Linked DNA regions of Homo sapiens: regions 1, 3, 4 and 5 are each linked to region 2. The links are contacts of gene promoters, found by promoter capture Hi-C in blood cells and fetal thymus (Javierre and others, 2016). All regions are on one chromosome and are shown on one strand. The core of a region is centred on a gene start or on the middle of the fragment in contact, and the rest is flanking DNA. Distances in the headings are between cores, read along the strand shown.

Region 1 (2,770 bases), core at 130-2,629, 220 kb after region 2:
GCCTCGAGTAGCTGGCACTACAGGTGTGTGCCACCATGCTGGCTTTATTATTTTATTTTTTGTAGAGATGAGGTCATGCTCTGTTGCCATAGGTGGTTTCAAACTCCTAGGCTCAAGCGATTCTCCTGCCTCAGCCTCCCAAAGTGCTGGGATTACAGGCATGAGCCACTGCATCTGGCCATTGATCTGATTTTACCTTGGAGTCATATTATGTAATTCAGTCATTCTTTTGATTAGATACTAAAGCCTTTCTATTTCAAAAGGGAATATAAAGACATAGTCTCTCAAGGACTTACATTGCCATATGTGCACTCCAACCAAGGGTAAAAGGTGGTTTTGTATTTTCAGTGCAATGAGATGACAGGGTCAGGTATCTTGGAATGATGACTTGCTGCCCAATCTTATTGTTAAGCGAGAGAGCCACATTGAAGCTATATCGTTTCAAATGGAGAATGAGGACCCTGAAAAACAGGAGATGACAACCTTACTAATTCATACATAATACATGTATCTTTCTTACAGTAAAAGAGATCACTCTATGTTAGACGACTTTTGATTTAAAAAATCCATTTGGCCAAACCAAAGACACGTCAAAGAATATTTACTGAATACCTGTTAGTGCCAGGCATTGGGCTAGGTAAAAAGCATACAAATAATGGTGGATTAGTGTGGTTTGGGTAAAATACTTATAATGTTCCTAGAAAAAACACAAATAAATAAAATATAGCAGACAAGAATGTTAAATTTGGCACTGATATTGGGTTAAATCCTTAAATTATTTACTTCACTGTTACATAGTTTAAAAAGCAATAGGTTTTATATAACCACTACTAGTAAAATAATGTCTATTAAAATGTTACATAGCTCTTATATTTGATGGTAAACATTAATTACTTCAAGATGATTTTTGATGAGAATTATTCTTTTATTTTCAGAAGTACTTTCTCTGTAGAAAGCTAAGGAGGAAATACAAAACTTTTCCCCATTTAGAAAAAAGCTTTACAAAAATTTGCATGCCAAATCTGATCTGTGGGTCTGTAAAGGCTTTTAGCTCTTTAGAAGCACTGAATTCTTTGTGGTTAAAATTGTGGTAACCTTTTCACTTCTCACACAGAACACGATCTCTGCTTGATGGATTAAATATATTTCTCAACCCACAAGAACACTTTAAAAATTGAATTTCAAACATCTTATGGGAATAAACTTCAGTTCTAGGCACACACACAAAAATGATCTATAAAAAACTGATTCTTACCATATATGCCTTCATCACAGAAGCCACAAACAAAAATTTGCAAACTGAAGTTATAGATTGTAGTTCTCTTTAAAAAGCGTGCTAGAACTCAGGATCTTCAAATATACAATTTGAGAGAATACAAGGACACAACTGATATGAAACCAATGTCAAAATTAAATATTTTAACTAGAATTTCAAATAACCTAACCAAAATAAAAGGTAATATGAGGCTACTCTGGACACACTGCCTATAGTGTAGCCCTGCTATGCATGGAGCAGTAAAAGGTGGGGGGGAAGGTAATATAAAACAGGAAAATGATAGTCAAAATCACTGATCTTCAAAGATGAGGCCCAACTTTGTGAACAGATTTGATAATGGCATCAGGCTCTTCAAGAATAAGAGTGGCTTTGAATATTAAACTGAACAAAAGTAGAACAAGACTAATCATTAGGATTTAAAGAGTGGCTTTGAATATTAAATTGAACAAAAGTAGAACAAAACTAATATTAGGATTTGACAAACAGAAGCTTCTATCACATAAGTCTGGAATAAATTAACCTTTAACACAAGTGATCTACCAGGAAAAAAAAAAAAAAGAAAAAAAAGAAAGAAAAACAAGGAGAAAAATTCCCCTTAGCATTTTTTTCCCCCCACTTGAAAAACCAAATAGCAAGAGAATGGGAAAGAGAAAAGACATCCAGCATGTGAGGTCAAAACTAGTCTTTTTAACTGTACACATAATTTCCTTAGTGACAGCTGGTAACAACCAATTCTTTGCCTTAAGATTCTTCCTCCCACCTTCCTGGCCTCAAACCACTCACAAACAGGAAAGAACAAATTCTCTTAATCCAAAAATATAAGTCTCTTAAGTCAATATAATAATACTGCTATGATTTATACACTTGAGGAGGCCGAGGCGGCCACATCACCTGAGGTCAGGAGTTTGAGACCAGCCTGGCCAACACGGCGCGACCCTGTCTCTACCAAAAACACAAAAATTAGCCAGGCGTGGTGGCGCGTTCCTGTAATCCCAGCTACTCAGGAGGCTGAGGCAGGAGAATCGCTTGAACCCAGGAGGCGGGGGTTGCAGTGAGCCGAGATCATGCCACCGCATTCCAGCCTGGGCAACAGAACGAGACTCTGTTTGAAAAAAACAAAAAACACAACATTTTTTGTAGAGATGGGGGTCTCACCATGTTGCCCAGGCTGGTCTTGAACTCTTGGTCTCAAGCAAACCTTCCACCTTGGCTTCTCAAAATGTTGAGATTACAGGCGTGAACCACCACACCCAGCCTTTATAAAGTCATTTCTTTAAAACCAACTTCCTTGGCCCGGCGCGGTGGCTTATGCCTATAATCCCAGCACTTTGGGAGGCCAAGGCAGGTGGATCACCTGAGGTCAGGAGTTCAAGACCAACCTGGTCAACATGGCAAAACCCCGTCTCTACTAAAAATACAAAAATTAGCCAGGTGTGGTGGCATACAGCTGTAATCCCAGCTACTCGGGAGGCTGAGGCAGGAGAATCGCTTGAA
Region 2 (2,700 bases), core at 88-2,587:
CGGGCTTCCAGCCCTTCAGGCCCAGCTCTCCCGGAGAGCACCAGAGTCCCTTTGCTCCATTTACTTGCGCTCTTCAGCCAGCAAGTGTTTCCTAATGTCTCACCCCCAGTCCCAGCTTTCCTGCTGCAATTTCCGCCTGTTCCCTCCCATTTCAGGCCTTAAGGGAGTGTGGCTGGGCTTCTCTCCTCCCCCTCACTCCAAAGCCGCACTTGATACAAGGTGGAAATCAAAGCACCACTTCTGGCTTCCCAGCCTTGAACTTGCCCTTCCCTCTCAATGTATCTGGTTTCCTCAGCTTCCCTGTGCAGCAAGAGTGTCACTCCCCTCTTGCTTTTCCCAAGCTCCCCATGCGCCCCTCTCAGCAGATCTGTCTTAGAGGGGCCAGGTGCAGAGAAAGGCAGAAATCCTAATAATGTTCCCAGCGATCGCTGCCTGTCGCGGAGTGCTGAAGGGCCAAGTGTTGATCTGAGTCCTCATCACACGGGACTTCATTTAGTCTCACGATAGGTGAGTACAACTATGGGCCCCATTTGACAGATGAGGAAACTAAGGCAAGGGAACTTTAGTCATTTGCCCAAGTTCACTGGCTTTTTTAAAAAAGGATCCAGACAGCTCTGATTCCAGCGCCAGCTCATGCCTCTTCATCATGGGGGAGGAAAGAGAGGGAGCCATTTGTTGGGGCAAACCCCCACCCATCAAGGGCCATGCACTGGGGTATATGCCGCCATATGTGTTATCCTGTGATATTCCCCACCACGACCTTAATTAGAGGTGGTTTTTCTTGTTCCCATTTTAACACAGGCAAAAACCGAGGCCCAGTAGTACCTTACCCATGGTCACATCCCCAGAGCCATTTGTCCCTCATAGTTCAGAACTTGACTCAGAAAGCAGTTGAGAAAAGTGTGGAATGACCCCAGATTCAGGAAGGCAAGTCTGGCCTTAGAAACTGAAAGGCCCATCAGGTGATGGGATGGGGGAGTGAAGATCCTCAGGCCCCAAACACCTGCCACTGCCACCATCACACACGGAAGTGTGGAGGGAGCCTGGTGTGCTGTCAGCTGGCTGGCCAGTCCAGGGGCTTAAATGTAAATGCATCAGCTGAGGCGGGAAGTCGGGAGGGGTAAGTCAATCATTATTATTCATTAACTGGAATGCATTTCTCAGATTACTCCGAGCTGGAGTAGGGAAACTGCCACCTAGGTGGCAGGGGGAGAGGGGAACTGGGTGGGAGGGGGAGGCAGGCCTCCCAGTTGCTGCAGTTTGGAATATGTCAGGTCCCACCCTCCCAGAGGCGGGGCCAGGGCTGAGTCCTGCCAGCCTCATTTCTCTATCCCTCTGAGAACCCAGACGGGCAGAGCCTGGGTAGGAGAGCCTGGCCCCGCTGTCCCCACTGGGTGGAGACACCATGCACTTGGTCCACTTGTGCTCTTCAGCCAGGACACCAGACATGGTCCAAACCGCTGCAGGGCTGGCTGCAGCAACTCCCTGACACTCAGGAAGGCCCAGGCTGGGCAGGCAATACCTGCTCCCAACAGCCATGTGAGTAGCTACTCCCCCAAACCCCCAAACCCCAGATCCTGGAGAGGCTACTACACCCAGCCCAAGCCACCAGACCCTCGGGGGTGTGCAGGTGGTACAGCCTGCACCCTGCTGGGAAATCACCCCTGGGGGCTGCTCCCTGCCTTTGTCGCTGTTCTAGTGGAGGTGGGTTGGGGGGAATCATTCCGATTAGGGCTGGGAGCTCCAGCTCAGGCCAGGTTTGGGGTAATGGACCCTGAGTCTCACGGGACTTAAGAGAGTTGATGATGCCCTGGGAAAGGGAACAGAAACTGCAAGGCCTCTAGAGAGGAAAAGACATCCTGGGTGGAGGGCACTGGAAGAGATTGAGAAAGAGAAAACATGCTTAGGGGAGGGGAAAGGGGGCATAAGGCCTTGGAGGCCCAGGCTCAGGGTGCTGGGGGAACCTGGGAAGGAAGGGGAGCATCTTCCTTCCTCTCAGCTCAGGGCAGCCATGGGGCCCTGATCCCCTGTCCTGGAGGAGGGGAGAGGTATGAATCCTTTCCTTATTGACTTGGATCCTAGCAACAGCAGCTGCTCCCCTGTTGACAGAAGCAGGAGTTCCCACAGGACCCAGGACCCCTCCCCCTGTCCCCAGGATGTGGCAGCAGAGCCATGACACTGGAGGACTGAGACCAGGGAATGACGGGAAGGACAGGGACAGATGAGAGCCACAGAGAAGCCAGACTCTGCCCAGACTCCTCTTCCCTCTCCTCTGGGCTCAGCCTCAGGCCTGGGGGTGTGGGGGAGTCCCTCTCCTTGCTGCTGGCATCTCCACGTTCACTGCCACACGTGCCCTCCAGCTGCTTCTCTCCTCCCTCCAGCTCCCAGGAAGGACCCTGTTGCTAGTGTGGAGCAAAGACGAGTCAAGTTTATGGGCTGGAAGTCCTACCCGGAGGCTGCTCACTGAGCTGTGATGGCTACAAGGACAGATGGGGGGAAGGGTGCAGGGTGCCCGAGACCTGGCCCGCTGGAGCCTGTCACCTAATGGCTGGCTGGAAGACCACTACACACCAGCCAGCCCTGGTCCATTCTCTCATTTAGAGGCCTCCCCGGTGGAGGCAGGGATACACAAAATGCTTTGGGGCTGGATGGGCCCGCCTTTCAGTCTAAACAAGAGACCTCAACACAGCTGCCCAGAAA
Region 3 (2,782 bases), core at 200-2,699, 180 kb after region 2:
AGTTAGTCCATGGACTACACTTTGAGAAATAATGCTGTCTCTATACTCCATCACCTTTGGGATCCCTTCTCTAGGTAGAATAACTACAACTCCTTTGGTCTTTCAGTGAGTTAACAGAAGTGTATTTAGGCTGGGCACAGTGGCTCACGCCTGTAATCTCAGCACTTTGGGAGGCCGAGGTGGGTGGATTGCTTGAGCCCAGGAGTTTGAGACTAGTCTTCGTAACATGGGGAAACCCCATCTTTACAAAAAATAAAAAACAGCCAGGTGTGGTGGTGCGTGCTTGTGGTCCCAGCTACTCAGGAGGCTGAGGTGGGAGGTTGGTTTGAACCCAGGAGGCAGAGGTTGCAGTTAGCTGAAATTGTGCCACTGCACTCCAGCCTGGGCAACAGAGTCAGACCCTGTCTCAAAAAAAAAAAAAAAAAAAAACCCGAAAAAAGAAAAGAAAAAAAATGTATTTAGCCTTTAGGCCTGGGACACGGGAATATGAAATCAAAACCTTTGCTTTGAGAAGTTCACAGGCTTATAGAGAGAACAAGACAGAGCTAACTCTGAGGAATGTGTCCAGAATTCAAGAGCAAGTTCACAAGCACACTGGGGTATAATCAACAGATGGTCAAAACCTGCAGCACTCATGAAACCCTTCTTGGTGGACTGACAGTACAGACTGGCATGTATAGATAGGTCAAGGTTAAGTGAATTTATAGATGACAATTTCACAACAGATAAGAGAGACAGGGTCATAAATATCCAGGCTAGATCTCCAACTCTGGGGAAAGCCATGGGAAAGTTAATGAATCGTTAAAGAAAAGAGTCATTTTCCACCAATGGACTTCGGTCAGAACAGACCACTAAGCTCTATGTTGTTGTTGTTGTTGTTTTGAGGAGTCTCTCTCTGTTGCCCAGGCTGAAGTGCAGTGGCGCAATCTCAGCTCACTGCAACCTCCACCTCCCAGGTTCAAACGATTCTCCTACCTCAGCCTCCTGAGTAGATGGGATTACAGGCGCCTGACACCACACCTGGCTAAGTTTTGTATTTTTAGTAGAGATGCGGTTTCACCATGTTAGACAGGCTGGTCTTGAACTCCTGACCTCAAGTGATCCACCCACCTCAGCCTCCCAAAGTGCTGGGATTACAGGCGTGAGCCACTGCACCCAGCCTATGTTGTTCTTATGAGTGTGTGTGTGGCAGGGTGGGGTGGGACATGGGAGGCTTCTTGAAGGTGGTGCCCTAGAGACTTCAGAGAGAAAGGCAGCCTGGGAGGTAGCTGTGCACCAGCTAAAGTAACCAGTGGTTTCCTTTTCTTTCCTAGGAGGTCACAAGCCCCAAAGTGGACGTGTTCAATGCTAACAGCAACCTCAGTTCTGGGCCTCTGCCCATCTTCCCCCTGGAGCAGCTAGTGAACAAGCCTGTAGAGGAGCTCCCCGAGGGTGTGGACCCCAGCAGGAAGGAGGTAGGTCAGATTCTCAAAGGAAGACAAAGAAGTCCATTTGTTGGACCACCATAGTTGACTCCCAGATTTGGCCCTGCAGGTGACTAGGTGCTGGGGATGAACAAGACAGATGGGATCCTGCCTTCATGCCACCTTATATCCCAGGAGGAGAGAGATCAGAGAAGCCTGGTTACACTATTATTTAATTTCAGGGTTAAGTGCCAGAAAGGTGAAGTACAGGAGCTGTGAAGAGTATTACAAACAGGGCCGGGTGCAGTGGCTCATGCCTGTAATCCCAGCACTTTGGGAGGCCGAGGTGGGTGGATCACCTGAGGTCAGGAGTTTGAGACCAGCCTGACCAATATGGGGAAACCCCATCTCTACTAAAACTACAAAAATTAGCCAGGTGTGGTGGTGTATGCCTGTAATCCCAGCTACTCGGGAGGCTGAGCCATGAGAATTGCTTGAACCCGGGAGGTGGAGGTTGCAGTGAGTCAAGATCATGCCACTGCACTCCACCCTGGGTGACAGAGTGAGACTGTCTCAAAAAAAGAAAAAAAAAAAAGGTATTACAAAGAGGAGCCTGATTTAGAGATTTCTTTCTGAAAGACAAATAGGAATTATTGAGGCAAAGTAAGTTAGTTCTGGAGAAGGGACAGCTAACATGAAGCCCAAAGGCAAGGAATAAAAATGGGGGCAAAACTGCAAGAGGGCCAGAGTGGCTGTGGTGGTGTGCAGAGCCAGGGAGGGAGGCAGGGCTGAACTGGCAGTGCCTTCTACCCCAAGTTAAGGATCGTATCATGTATCCTGGTGGTGAAGGGGAGTATCATTATGGTTGAAGTAGCAGAGTGACAGACTTACATTGGCCTGGCACGGTGGCTCATGCCTGTAATCCCAGCACTTTGAGAGGCCGAGGAATGCGGATCACCTGAGGTCAGGTGTTCGAGACCAGCCTGGCCAACATGGTGAAACCCCATCTCTACTAAAATTACAAAAATAGCCGGGCATGGTGGCTTGTGCCTATAATCCCAGCTACTCGGGATGCTGAGGCAGGAGAATCACTTGAACCCAGGAGGTGGAGGTTGCAGTGAGCCGAGATTTCACCATTGCACTCCAGCCTGGGCGACAAGAGTGTAACTCCATCTCAAAATGATAATAATAATAATAATTATAGCTTCTCATCGAACAATAGCCTGGAAGGTGGCAAGAGCAGCCATAGGAACACCAGTTAGGAGAGACAGCACAGCTGCTCTCAGGCCGACAGGTAGGTGGGAACCTAGAACAAGTCATGGTGGAGGAGGTGGAGAGAAACATTTAGGAGGTAAAATCAATGATATTTGGTAATTACT
Region 4 (2,700 bases), core at 92-2,591, 180 kb before region 2:
GACAGAAGGACATCAGGATGTCCCTCACCAGACCAAAGCATGGCGCTCAGATCACCTGGGTGTTGCTAAAAGTCAGATTTGGGGTTTGATAAATCAAAGCTTCCAGTGAGAGGACCTGGTACCTATCTATTTAGCAAGCTGATTAGATTAGCACTGTGGCCTAATCTAATGGCACCAGGTCAGTGAATTGGTGCTGAGAGGGATGACTGGTTTTGGGTCCTCTCCACAGATCCCAGCCGCATATGGAGGGCCTGAAAATGTCCAGATTGAGGACTCACACACCAGTCAAGCCATCTGTCTGCAAGATGCACCCAGTGGACAGCAGCTGGCAGGGCTTCCCAGGTCCCAGCAACAAAGGCATCTTCCTTTCTTTTTGGAAAAGAAGGGGGAAAGTTCCAGGAAACATAGGTACCCCCAGAGCATGTGGGAGCCAGAAGGGAAGGAGCTTCAGCTAGACCAGGAGGAAAGAGCCCCATGGATTGAGATCTTCCTGGGGAACTCAACACCCAGCACCCAGGGACAGGGGAAGGGGGCTATGGGCACTCAGAAGGAGGTGATAGGGATGGAGGCTGAGGTCACAGGGGTTCTGCTGGTTGCAGAGGGTCAGAGAACAACAGAGGGGACTCACAAAAAGGAAGCAGAGTGGAGTCACGTCCAGAGGCTGCTGATGCCCAGCCCCAGAGGGGCTGTAGAGGGAGCAGTATCAGGGAGCAGGCAGGGGTCGGGGGGCTCTAGCATCCTGGGGGAGCCCTGGGTCCTTCAGGGACACGCAACAAAGGAAGACTCTACCGTGGAGAATCCACAAGTGCAAACAGAAGTGACCCTTGTGGCCAGAAGGGAGGAGCAAGCCGAGGTGTCCCTGCAGGACGAGATCAAGGTGAGAACAGTTGAGCTCCATACCTGGTTATTTGCCCCTGTCTGACCTGGCCCACAGATGAGGGTCTGCAATGGTAGCCTGGGACCATTCCCTCCCACGGGTCAATTTTTATTGGCCCACTCAGGATTATTATTTGGGGATGCCTTTGAAAGCCATACATTCTTCAGGTCCCCACAGTCCCCGCCTCTCCCTATTGCCCCACGCTAGACCCACTTTATTCGGCAATACTTCTTGCCCAGCCCCAGTAGGCTTTGGAGTTTGAGATCCCTTCCCAGCAGTTCTTCCAGGCAGTCACTTCCTCTCTCCAGTTCCATATCCTCATGATGGTAAGTCTCTTCCCGAAATCTAAGTTCTACTGTTGCAGAGCCCACCTAGTTGCTCCTGTGGTGGATGCTTCTCCTGGAGGTCACTCAAGATTGTCACCAAGCCTCCCTTCGGCCTCCACCCAGGAACTTGCAAGTTTCTGAGTTTACAACTTCCACCCTTCAGTGAAGGAAGAAACCGTGGCCCAGGCACACCCAGAAGCAGGGCCTAGGACAGAGCCAGGCATCACAGCTCCCAGCACTGTCCCCAGCCCTGCCAGGGCATGGCCTGGGGTCTCTCGGGAATGTTGTTCAGGTCAGCCCCAGCACTGGGGTCTCTGCCCTTCTCCTTCAGCCTCCTTCTCCCCTCCTTCCACCCCACAGAGCCTCAGACTTGGGCTCCGGAAGGCTGAGGAGCAGGCCCAGCGCCAGGAGCAGCTGCTGAGGGAGCAGGAGGGGGAGCTGCAGGCACTTCGGGAGCAGCTCAGCAGGTAACCTTGGCAACCCACAGCACAGGGCACCTGGAAGTGCTCCCTAGGTCCTGCTGTCAATCACGGTCAAGCCAGTGAGGTCTTGTGAGAACCTCCCATGCACCAGGCCCTGGACTGGGCACACCTTTGGGATCTGAGGCCTGCAGGGCATTGCTCCTGATCCCAGGGCTCCACCCTCCCTCCTCTGTGCATCCCTTTCTCGTAGGTCTCCCAGAGCAGGAGCAGCCCCAGGAAAGGCCCCGCCTCCTGGCCTGCTTCCTTCCCACCCTCACCCCTGCCTCCCTCTGCTGCCTCCCCTGGGCAGCTCCTCTCTCTTTTTCACCCTCTCTGCCTCCCTACTCCACTGGACTTCTTTCCCCCATCTCTTTCTGTCTCCCTTTTTTACTCAGTTTCTTTGTGTCTCATTTGCTTCTTCCTGTTATGCCACCTCTCACCCTCTCATAATCACAGCTATCATTTACTAAGCATTTACTACGTCCCAGGCACTGCTGTCGGTGCTTCTGCGTAACACCCTTATGAGATGAGTTCTATAGAACCCCCATTTTATAGAGGAGGAAGCTGAGGCTCAAAGATGCTGCACAATTCACCCACCATTGGCTAGTTAGCGGGGGAGCTGAGATTCAAGGCCTGCAGCTGACTCCAGAACCAGTGGGCTCAGACGCCCCATTCAGGCAGCATGTCGAGTGCCTGCACTTCAGTCTCTCCGTTTCTCCTGCTCAGTGTCTCTCACCATCCAGTGTCTTCATCTTCCGTCATCACATTGACCTCAGGGGCCCACAGCACGCTGTCTGTCTCTACCATCCCCCCTCAGTCCTCAGTCTCTCAGGTCTCAGTTTCTCTCTCTCTCTCTCTCTTTCTTTTTGTAGAGACGAGGTCTCACTACATGGTGCAGACTGGTCTCAAATTCCTAGGCTCAAGCTTCAGCCTTCCAAAGTGCTAGGGTTGCAGGCATGAGCCACCACACCCAGCCCATAATTTATTTTTTAAAGTCTCTTCTCACTGCAGAGATCTTCCGTGGCCTGACTCAGCC
Region 5 (2,710 bases), core at 160-2,659, 200 kb after region 2:
TGCTTTAATATATAATTAGCTCCACTAAAATCACAGTATAGTGTGATTTACAATCACATGAATATCTAAGAATGAAGCCAGGCACGGTGGCTCACACCTGTAATCCCAGCACTTTGGGAGGCCGAGGCAGGTGGATTACCTGAGGTCAGGAGCTGGAGACCAGCCTGACCAACATGGTAAACTCCACCTCTACTAAAAATACAAAATTAGCTGGGCATGGTGGCACATGCCTGTAATCCCAGCTACTTGGGAGGCTGAGGCAGGAGAATCGCTTGAACTCAGGAGGCAGAAGTTGCAGTGAGCCAAGATCACGCCACTGCACTCCAGCCTGGGCAACAAGAGAGAAACTCCATCTCAAAAGAAAAAAAAAAGAAAAAAGAAAATCTAAGAATGTGAAGAACAGGAAAAGAGAATATAGCTTCAAAATTCTGGAAGTTGGAAATACATGTGTGACTGACTCAGCAGACCTAAGAAAGCCAAAGCCATACCCCAAGCCAGCAATGGAAAAGTTGAAAACTAATCCAATTTATATCACTGAATGTTCAAAAGACACAAGAAGACATGGAAGAACTAGGCCAGGCATGGTGGCTCACACCTCTAATCCTAGGACTTTGGGAGGCCGAGGCGGGTGGGTGAACTGCCTGAGATCAGGAGTTCGAGACCAGCCTGGGCAACATGCCAAAACTCCATCTCTACTAAAATGAAATATAAAAAATTAGCTGGAACCTGGGCACGGTGGCTCACACCTGCAATCCCAACACTTTGGGAGGCCAACGCAGGTGGATCACCTAAGGTCAAGAGTTCGAGACCTGCCTGGCCAACATGGTGAAACCTCATCTCTACTAAAAATACAAAATTTAGCTGGATGTGGTGGTGGGTGCCTGTAATCCCAGCTACTTGGGAAGCTGAGGCAGGAGAACTGCTTGAACCTGGGATGCTGAGTTTGCAGTGAGCCAAGATTGTGCCATTGCACTCCAGCCTCGGCAACAAGAGTGAAACTCTGTCTCAAAAAAAGAAAAAAAAAAAATTAAAAAATTAGCTGGGTGTGGTGGTGCACGCCTATAGTCCCAGCTACTCAGGAGGCTGAGGCACAAGAATCACTTGAATCCGGGAGGCAGAGGTTGCAGTGAGCAGAGATCACGCCTCTGCACTCCAGGCCCTGGGCAACAGAGCATGACCCTGTCTCCAAAAAAATGAAGACATGGAAGAACCAGGAACCAGGTACCTCTGAAACTGGGGGATAAGGAGGGGATAAAATAAAGATTAGGTAAAAGCTGTTTGAGAAACAGATTCCTACATCTACTTCTTCCAGCTTCCTAACTCATGGACTTCTAAAACCTGGTCCACATATTAGTTCTGCCAAATGCTACGACATGTGAACCTTATGCTACTGAATACACTCACTCATGACTGCCCACTGACTGCCCCAGAATAAGCTCTTGAAAATTCACGGGGAAACTGAAGCCACATTATGTTCTTCTAGGAGTCGTAACAGTGGCAAAATTATAATTCTTTCATTAAACAGATGATAGATTGTTCTTGCTAATTTTTCAATATTAAAAAACATATTGTTAGAGATATGGGTATAGATGACAAAAATTATTTTGAAAAAAGCAAGCTGAAGATGAATACAAATGTTAGAATAGTGGTTTCCTCTGGGAGGAAGACAAAAAGGAGAGATATAAAGGTTACTTCTAAGGTTCTATTTCTTTACCTGGGAGGTATTCAAATTTGTTATCAAAAAACACATTTTAGCTTGTAATCTCGGCACTTTGGGAGGCTGAGGAGGGTGGATCACTTGAAGCCAGGAGTTCAAGACCAGCCTTGGCCAACATGGTGAAACCCCGTCTCTACTGAAAATACAAAAATTAGCTGGGTGTGGTGGCACAACCGCTAATTCCAGCTACTCGGGAGGCTGAGGCATGAGAATTGCTTGTACCCAGGACGTGGAGGTTGCAGTGAGCCAAGATTGCACCACTGCACTCCAGCCTGGGTGACAGAGTGAGAGGCTCTCCCCCACAATAAACACACACACACACACACACACACACACACACACACACACACACACACACACACACTTTCTTTATATGTTCTTCTATGTGTGAATGGTAATTTTACCATTAAAAAAATGTAATTAAAAAGATCTCCACACCTTGAAGACTTAACTCGGTAGCTCTTTTGAGGTCATCATCTTCTTTCTGTTCCCAAGCCTCCTAAAGGGAAAAGAACAAAAACTAAGGTATTTAAAGAGGTACTGATTAAACTTACTTAATGAGGATAAAATCAGTTTCTCTGGAAGCATTTGCTAAGAATGCTTTCTATAACCTTATGGATGTTTGGAATATTACCTTTTGAGGAATGTGGGGAAGTTCTTTACTTTTTTTTTTTTTTTTTTTTTTTGAGACGGAGTCTCGCTCTGTCCCCCAGGCTGGAGTGCAGTGGTGTGATCTCGGCTCAATGCAAGCTCCGCCTCCTGGGTTCACGCCATTCTCCCGCCTCAGCCTCCCAAGTAGCTGGGACTACAGGCGCCCGCCACCACGTCTAGCTAATTTTTTGTATTTTTAGTAGAGATGGGGTTTCACCATGTTAGCCAGGGTGGTCTCAATCTCCTGACCTTGTGATCCGCCCACCTCGGCTTCCCAAAGTGCTGGGATTACAAGTGTGAGCCACTGCGCCCGGCCCACTCCAGTATTTTTTAAGATTTTTT

The links. The method cuts DNA at HindIII sites, captures the fragments that hold promoters and counts their contacts. A CHiCAGO score of 5 or more calls a contact.
Region 1: a contact is called between a fragment that was not itself captured here and the fragment with the promoter of GPBAR1 in region 2, in 6 of 17 cell types (neutrophils, monocytes, total CD8 T cells and 3 more). The highest score is 15.5, in neutrophils.
Region 3: a fragment that was not itself captured here is called in contact with the fragment with the promoter of GPBAR1 in region 2 in 1 of 17 cell types (neutrophils); the score reaches 7.4 in neutrophils.
Region 4: a fragment that was not itself captured here is called in contact with the fragment with the promoter of GPBAR1 in region 2 in 1 of 17 cell types (neutrophils); the score reaches 6.1 in neutrophils.
Region 5: a fragment that was not itself captured here is called in contact with the fragment with the promoter of GPBAR1 in region 2 in 3 of 17 cell types (neutrophils, monocytes and naive CD4 T cells); the score reaches 10.7 in neutrophils.

Annotation. Positions count from the first base shown.
Region 1 is chr2:218,481,774-218,484,543 of GRCh38, forward strand. It overlaps USP37 (ubiquitin specific peptidase 37), which reads right to left. Exons shown (of 26, transcript NM_020935.3): 17 at 297-461. Among named protein-coding and RNA genes, the nearest start is that of VIL1, 64 kb to the left of the region's middle. The HindIII fragment of the contact is 768 bases long and covers 996-1,763 here.
Region 2 is chr2:218,259,678-218,262,377 of GRCh38, forward strand. It overlaps GPBAR1 (G protein-coupled bile acid receptor 1), which reads left to right and starts at 1,338. Exons shown (of 2, transcript NM_170699.3): 1 at 1,338-1,539. RefSeq lists an enhancer at 1,785-2,590. The HindIII fragment of the contact is 11,967 bases long and covers 1-2,700 here.
Region 3 is chr2:218,439,409-218,442,190 of GRCh38, forward strand. It overlaps VIL1 (villin 1), which reads left to right. Exons shown (of 20, transcript NM_007127.3): 19 at 1,314-1,454. Among named protein-coding and RNA genes, the nearest start is that of VIL1, 22 kb to the left of the region's middle. The HindIII fragment of the contact is 5,722 bases long and covers 1-2,782 here.
Region 4 is chr2:218,074,864-218,077,563 of GRCh38, forward strand. RUFY4 (RUN and FYVE domain containing 4) reads left to right here. Exons shown (of 13, transcript NM_198483.4): 9 at 230-877; 10 at 1,564-1,670. Among named protein-coding and RNA genes, the nearest start is that of RUFY4, 7.0 kb to the left of the region's middle. RefSeq lists an enhancer at 1,165-1,666. The HindIII fragment of the contact is 2,489 bases long and covers 98-2,586 here.
Region 5 is chr2:218,461,151-218,463,860 of GRCh38, forward strand. It overlaps USP37 (ubiquitin specific peptidase 37), which reads right to left. Exons shown (of 26, transcript NM_020935.3): 22 at 2,156-2,216. Among named protein-coding and RNA genes, the nearest start is that of VIL1, 43 kb to the left of the region's middle. The HindIII fragment of the contact is 7,620 bases long and covers 1-2,710 here.